Regions from separate parts of the Homo sapiens genome. Here region 2 is linked to region 1. Evidence: promoter capture Hi-C in 16 types of primary human blood cells and fetal thymus (Javierre and others, 2016). All regions are on one chromosome and are shown on one strand. Each heading gives the region's core, a stretch centred on a gene start or on the middle of the fragment in contact. The rest is flanking DNA. Distances are from core to core; before and after follow the strand shown. Region 1 holds the start of ZMAT5 (zinc finger matrin-type 5). Region 2 holds the start of DRG1 (developmentally regulated GTP binding protein 1).

Region 1 (5,077 bases), core at 997-3,496:
TGGGATGACAGGTGTGAGCCACCGCGCCGAGCCTTCATGCATAATTCTTGGCATTTATAAAATACTATGATGCTTTCAATCACCAGGTGAAGTAAGTGGAAAGGGGTGATCTTAATTTCACAGGAAATTCAGTTTGAGATTGAGGGAAGTGCCCCAAAACACACAATTATTAAGGAAAACAGCCTGGAAGATGTCTCAGTTCTTCAACTCCCAGGTATTACTGAAGAGATTATAAGTGCGTAGTCCCAAAATATTTCACCATGAGCCATTTAAGACATTTCCTGGGACCTAAATTGGCTGAAATTCTCATTCCCAGAAGCACAAGAGGTTGAGCACAGTGGCTCACGCCTGTAATCCCAGTACTTTAGAAGGCTAAGGCAGGAGGACTGCCTGAGCTCAGGAATTCAAGACCAGCCTGGGCAACATGGTGAAACCCCATCTCTACAAAAAATACAAAAATTAGCTGGGCGTGGTGGCGCATGCCTGTGGTCCCAGCTACTCAGGAGGCTGAGGTGGGAAGATCACTTGAACCCAGGAGGTCAAGGCTGCAGTGAGCTGTGATCATGCCACTGCACTCCAACCTGGGCGACAGAGTGAGATCCTGTCTCAAAAAAACAAAACAAAACAAAAAAAAGCACAAGGAAAATGGGTGAGTTATAACAACATACTTGGATGTCTCTCCAGATCAATGGGAGTGGTTAACAGAACCACTTGCAAGAGATGGGACAGTAGCAATGCTTTCATATGGGGCAGGAAGTTGCACTGGTCACAGGCAGCATAGCACTAGTGGACAGTGCCTTCCCGGGCTGCAGAGTCAGACAGTCTCAAATTAAAAACACAAGTGAGTGGTGGAACAGGGCTATATGTATAAGGCCTACTCCAGCACAGTCATAATTTAGCGATATAAAGCATGCACTGCACCTAGCACAGTGCATGATACATAAAAGTCAAAAATGTGTTGCGATTCCTACCTCATGCTTCCACTTTCTCCTGAGGAATGTAAGCAATGATTATTTTTCAGTGGTACCACCTACCAGGCATGTGGCACCCTGCCTGCATCTCATGTAATCCTCACAATCGTGCTCAGGTTACTATTAATATCTCCATCTCACAGTTAAAACGGAGTTCAGAGAAGAAACTTGCTCAACTTAATGCCACAGTTAAGTGACAAGGACCAGTGTTCCTATCCAAGGCTTTCTGATTTCATAGCCCCCACTCTCAACCATTAATACCAACTGTCTACGTGGGAAGCCTTGGGGACCAGAAGCGCCGTCTGAAACTTCAGCCACGGCGTCTAAGGTGTCTAACGTCCTTTTCACGACCGTCGCCTGCTCAAATCTGCCCTTGAAACTCTGAGAGACAGGGGTCCCGTTTCTGGCCCTGACTTGCCCCTGGCTTCCTGTGCAGCTAGTAAGTCCTTTGCTCTCACTAGCCTTTAGTTTTTGCTTCTGATAATGGGCAAGTGGGTATGTAGGGTGGCACACAGCAATACTTACAACCCCTGCAAAATGAAATATATTAACCTCGCTTAACGTTTTAGAATTCACATCAAGCCAAGGGGACAGACGGCGGACTCGAGACAGAAGACGCCGACGGTTTACCCCTTACCCCCTTCCTGGTAAAAGTATACTGAGTCCCATCCCACCTCTACTCCACTGTCACCCCTCAGGCGGGTCCAAGGTCAGGGATGGCACAGGCCCTCACCCCCTCGTTGATGTGGTCGTAGATAGCGTCCGCGCCTTGATCGAAGGCGCGCTCGAAGAACATGACGCCCACGATGATGGTGAGGGCGAAGGTGGAGGTCCTGCGGAACAGCAGGGAGTACAATTTCGAAGTCAACGTCGCGGCCGCCATGTTTCTTCACAGTCCAACTCGCGCCACCGCGCCTGCGCTGGGGCCGACCTCGTTCCCCAAAGGCCCTAGACGTGCAACACTTTATGGGATTTGTAGTTCCTCTGAATCTCAGCCTTCGTGTTTTGAACCACAGAGGTATTCCTATCCTGGGAATGAGGAAAAAAACTCAAAAGGTTCATATCAGGACAGCCCAGATAATCTGATAAGATTTATTACCCAATTTTTCTTCTCCAGAATTCCTGGCTGTTAGAATATGTCAAACTACAACTCCCAGAAGCCCTCGCGCGCCATCACCTTCTCCCCGCCCTCCGCCCAGTCCCGGCTTAGATTCCCAAAGCTCTCTGGGAAGGGCGAACTGATGGCCAAGGCGAGACTACGAATCCCAGCAAGCAGTACGCGACGCGAGGACGCAGGAGGAGGAGCCCGGAGCTGCAGCCACCGGGGAGCCAGGTACCTTCCGCGAGACGTCGAGGGGCGAGTCCTAGTCTCTTTTCTCCGCACTGGAAGACTTGAACACTTCCTTCTCTGTGCGTACGCCCTGCGGCGGGACGCACCATTTCTTGGGATAGGGTGTGGATAGAGGGGCGAGGGCAGCTGGGTTCCCGAGACCCTGGCTCAACTCTTCGCCTTGTCCCCTGCACCAGCCCCAAGTCTAGGCCAGGAGCTGGAGCCTGCGGCAAAAGTCTTGTCCTGGAGGTTAAACCCTTCACCCTGGATTAAGGGCAGGGACGGATCTGCCCTGCTTCCTGTTCCTCTCACCCCTGGGCTTCGCACCGGGCAACCCTGGTTTGGAAGGCTGGAGACTTGGAACCTGCTTGGGATTGAAAAGAGCAAGGGCTTTGGAGTACCTGGGGCATTCAACAGATGTTTTCCCAGCGCCTGTTCTGGTCCCTGCTCTGGGGACCCAGCAGTGAACAAAGTCCTTGCTCTCACAGAGCGCTCAATCTACGGAGTGGGCGGGTGGGGAGATGCAGTACAGCAAACAGATAGTGCTTTGGTTGACTGGAGAGGCAGTGGTGGTGACATTGCACCCTGGGTAGCTGCTCTGGGGGGTGACACTTGACTAGAGACCTGAATGAATAGTAGAGTTGAACAGGAAAACGTTGGTGCAAAGGCCTTGAGGCAGCTACAGTCCTGGGATGTTTGAGGGAAAGAAGTAGAGTGGACTGTGAAGAGGTTGACTCCGGTCAGCTCATGTCTGGCCTTGGAACCCACCTTACGGAGTCTTGTTTTCTTTGGTTTTTGTTTTTAGAGACAGGGTCTCACTGTGTTGCCCAGGCTGGTCTCCAACTCCTGGGCTCAAGCAATCTTCCTGCCTCGCCCCCCAAGGTGCGTGAGCCACCGCGTCTGGCCAAGGAGTCTTGTCTTTTTCTAGTTGCACTAGGAGGCCATTGAAGGGTTTTCAGGAGAAATGCGACAAGATTTAATGTGCACTTTAATGTCATCATCCTGGCTGGTCTATGGAGAGTGGACCGCAAGGGGGAAGTTATTGTAGTAGATCATTTGAGGGAAGATGGGTGGTTATTTATTTGAGATGGAGTCTCGGTCTGTCGTCCAGACTGGAGTGTAGTGGTGCTATCTCGGCTTACTGCAACCTCCGCCTCCCGGGTTCAAGTGATTCTCCTGCTTCAGCCTCCCGAGTGGCTGGGATTACAGGCGCCTGCCACCATGCCTGGCTAATTTTTTTTTTTAGTAGAGACAGGGTTTCACCATGTTGGCCAGGCTAGTCTCAAACTCCTGACTTCAGGTGATCCTCCCATCTTGGCCTCCCAAAGTGCTGGGATTACAGGCGTGAGCCACCATGCCCGGCCTGATGGGTGGTAATTTAGGTTAGGGTGTGGAGCAGGGCAGTGATCAGATTTGGGATGTAATTTGGGAGGGAGGGCAGACAGAGCAAGCTAGCAGATGTGTGTAGGGTGCACAGGAAAGAGGAATTGAGGAGGATATCTAAGTTTTTTTTGTTTTTTGTTTTTTGTTTTTTTTTGAGACAGAGTCTCACTCTGTGCGGCTGGAGTGCAGTGGCACAATCTTGGCTCACTGCAACCTCTGCCACCCATGTTCAAGCAATTCTCATGCCTCAGCCTACTGAATAGCTGGGATTACAAGCGGATGCCAACACGCCCAGCTCATTTTTGTATTTTTAGTAGAGACAAGGTTTCACCATGTTGGCCAGGCTGGTCTTGAACTCCTGGCCTCAAGTGATCCGCCTGCCACGGTCTCCCAAAGTGCCGGGATTACAGGTGTGAGCCACCGCGTCCAGCTGACATCTAAGTTTTGACCTCAACAATTTAAAATCAACAGAATGATCTTAAGTTCTGTTTTGGCCACATCAGTTTGAGCTAGCCAACAGACATCAAGTGGAGGTGTCTAGAGGCAAATGAGGACATGGATCTGTAGTTTAGAGGAGAGGTATGAGCCTGAGAAGAGTCATCCGGATAGGGGTGGCATTCAAAACCAGGGACTGGGCTGGGGATGGTGCCTCACACCTATAATCCCAGTGTTTTGGGAATCCAAGGCAGGAGGAACACTTGAGGCCAAGAGTTGAAGACCAGCCTGGGCCGTATAGTGAGACCGTCTCCATGAAAAACAAACTAGGGGCCAGGCGCGGTGGCTCACACCTGTAATCCCCACACTTTGGGAGGCTAAGGTGGGTGGATCACTTGAGGTCAGGAGTTCAAGACTAGCCTGGCCAACATGGTGAAACCCTGTCTCTACTAAAAATACAAAAAAATTAGCCAGGTGTGGTGGTACCCGCTTGTAATCCCAGCAACTCGGGAGGCTGAGGCAGGAGAATCGCTTGAACCTGGGAGGCGGAGGCTGCCACTAACTGAGATCGCGTCACTGCACTCCAGCCTGGGTGATGGAGCTCAAATGAAAACAAAACAAACAAAAACTAGGGATTGGATTGCAGGCCTGGCTCTGCCTCTGACTCTGACATTGATCAGGCTTTAACTCTCTTTTAATTCATCTGTAAAGAGCAACAGTAATACCAGGTTAGGGGATCAGAAGGTAAAATGTGAAATGCTTTACATCCATGAGTTATCCTTACTGTGGTTTTATACTATTTGCAAAGCATCCTGGGAGCCCCTCAGAGCAGGAAGTTGTGAGGCTCCAGGGGAAGACTACTTAGGTCTTGCTAATCATTTCCAACCAATCTGGCTGATGGGAAGTTCAGAGGAGGGAGAAATGAGTAGGGAAGACCACAGGGAGTTAAAGGTGTGGC
Region 2 (5,077 bases), core at 1,146-3,645, 1.6 Mb before region 1:
GCTCACTGCAACTTCCACCTCCCAGGTTCAAGCGATTCTCCTGCCTCGGCCTCCTGAGTAGCTGGGATTACAGGTTCGTGCTACCATGCCCAGCTAATTTTTGTATTTTTAGCAGAGACGGGGTTTCACCATGTTGGTCAGGCTAGTCTCGAACTCCTGACCTGTGATCTGCCCACTTCGGCCTCCCGAAGTGCTGGGATTACAGGAGTGAGCCACCGCGCCTGGCCCTACTTTGGTTTTCTTAAGATGAGATCTCGCTCTATCACCCAGGATGGAGTGCAGTGGTGCCATCACAACTCACTGCAGCCTCAACCTCCTGGGTTCAAGCAGTCCTCCCAACTCAGCCTCCCAAGTAGCTGAGACCACAAACATGCACCACCATGCTAGGATACTTTTTTTTTTTTTTTTTTTTTTTGAGACAGAGTCTAGCTCTGTAGCCCAGGCTGGAGTGCAGTGGTACAATCTCACTCACTGCTACCTCTGCCTCCTGGGTCCCGATTCAAGCAATTCTCCTGCCTCAGCCTCTCAAATAGCTGGGATTACAGGCATGCGCCACCATGCCCAGCTAATTTTTGTATTTTTAGTAGAGATGGGGTTTCACCATGCTGGCCAAGCTGGTCTTGAACTCCTGATCTCGTGATCCACGCCTTGGCCTCCCAAAGTGCTAGGATTACAGGCGTGAGCCACCGCACCCAGCCTTTTTTTTTTTTTGGTACATCTTCTTTCATACCTATGGGGACCCCTCATTTCTAAGCCCATAGAGACAGGGCTTTGCTGGTTCCGAACTCCTGGCCTCAAGCAATCCTCCCGCCTCAGCCTCCCAAAGTGCTGGAATTACAAGGGTGAGCCACTGCACCCAGCGCATGTAAATCTATTTTGTATCAGTGCAGGATATAAATAAAACTACAGTACACTTAGACAATATTCATTTGCCTCTGAAACCGGCAGAATAAAAATAAACACAGTTCAAGAATTCATGCTTAGAAAATATAAATCTACTTTAGTAGAACATCTTTAGTTATTTTTCTGTTTTTAAAAAACTTTTTTTTTTTTTTGAGATGGGGGTCTATGTTGATCAGGCTGGTCTTGAACTCCTGGCCTCAAGTGATCCTCCTATCTCAGCCTCCCAGCATGCTAGGATTGCAGGCGTTGAGCCACTGCACTGGGCCATCTTTAGTTATTTTTAAACCACATGTATGTACTATTTTGACAAAAATTATACCTAAAAATATATATATTGAAGAAGAACACAAACCTTCTCCTGGACCTCCACCACCACCACCCTTTGGAGTAATGAGTTCTCGACGAAGCTTAGCAAGACGAGCCTTAAGCAGCCCTAAGTGGTGTGCTGTGGCCTTGTTCTTTTGAGTCCGAGCCATCTAAAAGGGAGGAATCACAGCCATAAATTAGAAGCAGTGAACGCTTCCCCCAGCTTTGAGAGGATAATTTTTTTCCCCAAGTCCTACTAATGTTAGCACACCCAGTTTACAGGCTTTAAAAGAGTAAAAGTCCATTATCTCCTCCATCCAGCTCATTTCCCTCACTACAAAGCAAAGCAAAGCCCAAAGAGGAAAGACGATTAAGGTCATTCCAATTAGTGCCCCCAGACTAGACTGAAACCCGTCTGCGGGTTCCTTTTCTACTATTTGCAGCTGTTTGGATCCATCTAACACTGGGACACCACTTTCCTAATTGTAAAGCGCTCTCAGGGCCGCACGCAATGGAATCACACACTATCCAGGCGGAATAAACTGCTCCCACACAGATGTCATTTTACTTCCAGATCCGATTACCGGGAGCAAATACTCTGAATCAGGGGGTCATTAGGGTAGACACTGGGAAAAGGGGGAATAAGGGGGACGCAGCGAAGGATGATGAGGAAAGATCCTGAACTATCTGACCAAGTCAGAGATGGAATAAGGGACAGGATTCAGTGTTTCTCAGAGCAAAACGGAAAGAAACAACATCAGAACAGGAGCCAAACACTGGGAGGGGGAACGGACTAAGGGCCTAAGGTGCAGGGGTGCGGAACGCGGGCCCGGGCAAAGGGGAGTCCGAGAGCGTAGACGCGGGACGAGGGGAAAGGGGGCCCTGACTGAGGAGAGTCGGGGACTCCTAATCGTGGCAGAGGGCAGTCGGAACACGGGCCTCGCTGAGAGAAGTCGCGGAATCTAGGCCCGGTCCTGACGCGGCTCAAAGGAGAACAGGAAGGAGCGACGCCACCAAAGAAGGAATGCTCAGACTAAGAGTGAACCGCCAGCTGCGTCCATTACCTCTGCTTCTATCTCCGCGATCTTAGCTAAGGTGCTGCTCATCGTGGCGAGTACCCTGTGGCCTCCACACTGTCTCCCTTCACACACCCGCGGGCAAACTGCCACCGCCACCAGGCGCTACTGCAGCACGCAGGCGCGGTACTTCGAATTACCGCGAGAGAGTTCCGCGTAGGGGTCACCGCGAGTCGCAAAGCGTGGGGCTGTCTCCTCCCCCTCACCCGACCCCGCCCCGTCCCGCGAGCCAGTGCGGTGTCATAGAGCCCGCGGGAGCGGAGGCCAGAGAGGCCACCCCTGTCTGGGCCTCCCCGAGCGCGCCGAGGGTCGCGCGCAGCTCGGCCCCGCCCAGCGGGACCCGCTCCCAGCTGCTCTGCATGGTACTGAACGCTTCAGTGCTGGAGACCCCAGGGCGTGGTGCAAAGCCGACTCATGCTCCGCACCCCTGTTCCTCGCCAGCATCTGCGGGTCCTGGGTCCCTTTTTCACAGCTGGGGTGACACCCCGACGCCCTCCATGGTCTTGGAGGGAGTAGAGACCCATCTTCAGCCTGCCTCACCCCCTTGGATAAAGAAAATGCCCCCTTTCTATCATTCAAAATTATTTTTAGGTCGGTTTTGTTTACTCCGAACCCCGAGTAGAGCACATGGGGAGCCCAAAATAAGTGCATACTTGAATGGATAATTCCCAGAGAACTGCTGCTTGCAACATAGTTTGTAATACCAAAAAATTGAAATCTATATTAACACCCATCAGTAGGAAAATGGATAAATGAATAATGCCTCTATCCTGTTTTTGAAATATGATTACAGCCGTTAAAACGTAGATCTGTGGTCTGACTGGCTACCCAGGACATGTTAAATGGGAAAACAACTAGCAGAAGGGCACCTACGTAGTGATACCATTTATGTTATTTTTAAAATTAAATGTACATTTATATAGGTGTACGTGTATGAACGTGCAGTTTAAAGGCCTAAACAGAAAAATACATCAGAAGCTCTTAACTGTGGGATGGGATGCAAAGAAAAGGCCTTTCACATTTTATTCCACAGAATTTTGAAGTTAAATTTTTACAAGACGAATGTATCCATGTATTACTTGTGTAATAATAAAATTTAAAATTTCAAAAGACTCCTCTTCCCCAAGTGTCATGAGGAAGCCAGGACGTCCAGGAACTATGTGGTGGTTTTGAAAGCGGTTTGCCTCAGGATCAATGGGTTGTTTTGATAGATTGATTATTCCAGCGGGAGTCGACAGGCCAGGCTTAACCCACAGTCGACAGGCCAGGCTTAACCCACAGGGCTGGCCTCCACCCAGCCCTGGGAGGGAAGTTTAATTTAGTTAAATTTGTAAACAAGAACTATTCTAACTTCCCAGAGACAAAAAAGGGAGGTTTTCTTGTGCATAAAGAGGGAGAAACAGAAGGGAAAGCTTTTACAGAAGGTCCCCAAAGGGCCAAAGAGAGTTTCTTCTTTCTTTTCTTTAACCTCAGCCTTTTTCATAAATAAATTAAGGGATGATGAGGTAATTAGATCCCACACTATTAGCAATGGAGGAGGGAAGATGAGGAGGTCCAGCTGGAATGGGACATGATCAAAGATCAATCTTAAAAGACAGATAAAATCAAATCAGCAGGCCTATCCTAACTTGAAGTACTTAAGGAATTAATTGGCTGACAATATCAAGGGCATCACTGCTCTGTGAGTAGGTGCTCCTTAGCAAATCTATTATATGAGGCCTGCAGATAAGTTAACACTTACTGCTCAAAGACACCCTGGGACCCACCTTGGGGCCCTGAACTGTCAATAGGCACCAAAGAGTAATACTCATTTTCCCGAGTCCTGGGTGGCCATCCTGTTCATGCAATCGTTATTTACAGAGCTCCAACTGCTGCCTGGCACTGTGACAACACTGGGGACAGAGTAGAGAGTGAATCAGATATGTTCCTGCACATAACAAGTATTTAGGCCGGGCGCGGTGGCTCATGCCTGTAATCCCAGCACTTTGGGAGGCCGAGGTGGGTGGCAGATCACGAGGTCAGGAGATCGAGACCATCCTGGCTAATACGGTGAAACCCGGTGTCTACTAAAAATACAAAAAATTAGCCAGGCATGATGGCATGCACCTGTAGTCCCAGCTACTCAGGAAGCTGAGGCAGGAAAATCCCTTGAACCCGGGAGGCGGAGGTTGCAGTGAACCAAGAATGTGCCACTGCACTCCAGCCTGGCGACAGAGGGAGACTCAGTCTCAAAAAAAAAAAGTATCCAGGCTGGGGCTGGGCACAGTGGCTCACCCCTGTAATCCCAGCACTTTGGGAGGCCGAGGCAGGTGGATCACCTGAGGTCAGGAGTTCGAGACCAGCCTGGCCAGCATGGTGAAACCCCGTCTCTATTAAAAATACTAAAATTAGCCGGGCGTGGTGGCGGGCGCCTGTAATCCCAGCTACTCAGGAGGCTGAGCAGGAGAATCGCTTGAACCCGGGAGGCAGAGGTTGTAGTGAGCCGAGATCATGCCATTGCACTACAGCCTGGAGCCAGGACGACAAGAGCGAGACTCTATCTCAAGGAAGAAAAAAAAAGAAGTATCCAGGCTGGGAGGCCAAGGCCAGGACCTTAGGTTCAGCTCCTAAGAGCCATAGCTACCCCATGTCTGTTAAGTACCAACTGCAGCAAGGAGAGCCCATTTGGTCATATGAATAAAGCACTAGCACCTTGGTATTAAATGTGTAAAAAATAAATAGGCCGGGGACAGTGGCTCACAGTTTAATCCCAGTGCTTTCAGAGGTTGAGGTGGGAGGATCGCTTGAGGCCA

The links. Contacts are between HindIII fragments. The CHiCAGO score rates a contact against its expected background, and 5 or more counts as called.
Region 2: a contact is called between the fragment with the promoter of DRG1 here and the fragment with the promoter of ZMAT5 in region 1, in 1 of 17 cell types (naive CD8 T cells). The highest score is 5.3, in naive CD8 T cells.

What each region holds. Positions count from the first base shown.
Region 1 is chr22:29,764,176-29,769,252 of GRCh38, reverse strand. ZMAT5 (zinc finger matrin-type 5) reads left to right here and starts at 2,246. Exons shown (of 6, transcript NM_001003692.2): 1 at 2,246-2,381. It overlaps UQCR10 (ubiquinol-cytochrome c reductase, complex III subunit X), which reads right to left and starts at 1,884. Exons shown (of 2, transcript NM_013387.4): 1 at 1,705-1,884. The coding sequence starts at 1,854. RefSeq lists enhancers at 1,753-1,802, 1,712-2,361, 2,163-2,392, 2,362-3,011. The HindIII fragment of the contact is 8,045 bases long and covers 1-5,077 here.
Region 2 is chr22:31,396,922-31,401,998 of GRCh38, reverse strand. DRG1 (developmentally regulated GTP binding protein 1) reads right to left here and starts at 2,395. Exons shown (of 9, transcript NM_004147.4): 1 at 2,274-2,395; 2 at 1,256-1,379. The coding sequence starts at 2,315. RefSeq lists enhancers at 2,286-2,335, 1,463-2,368 and a silencer at 2,456-2,735. The HindIII fragment of the contact is 2,387 bases long and covers 1,313-3,699 here.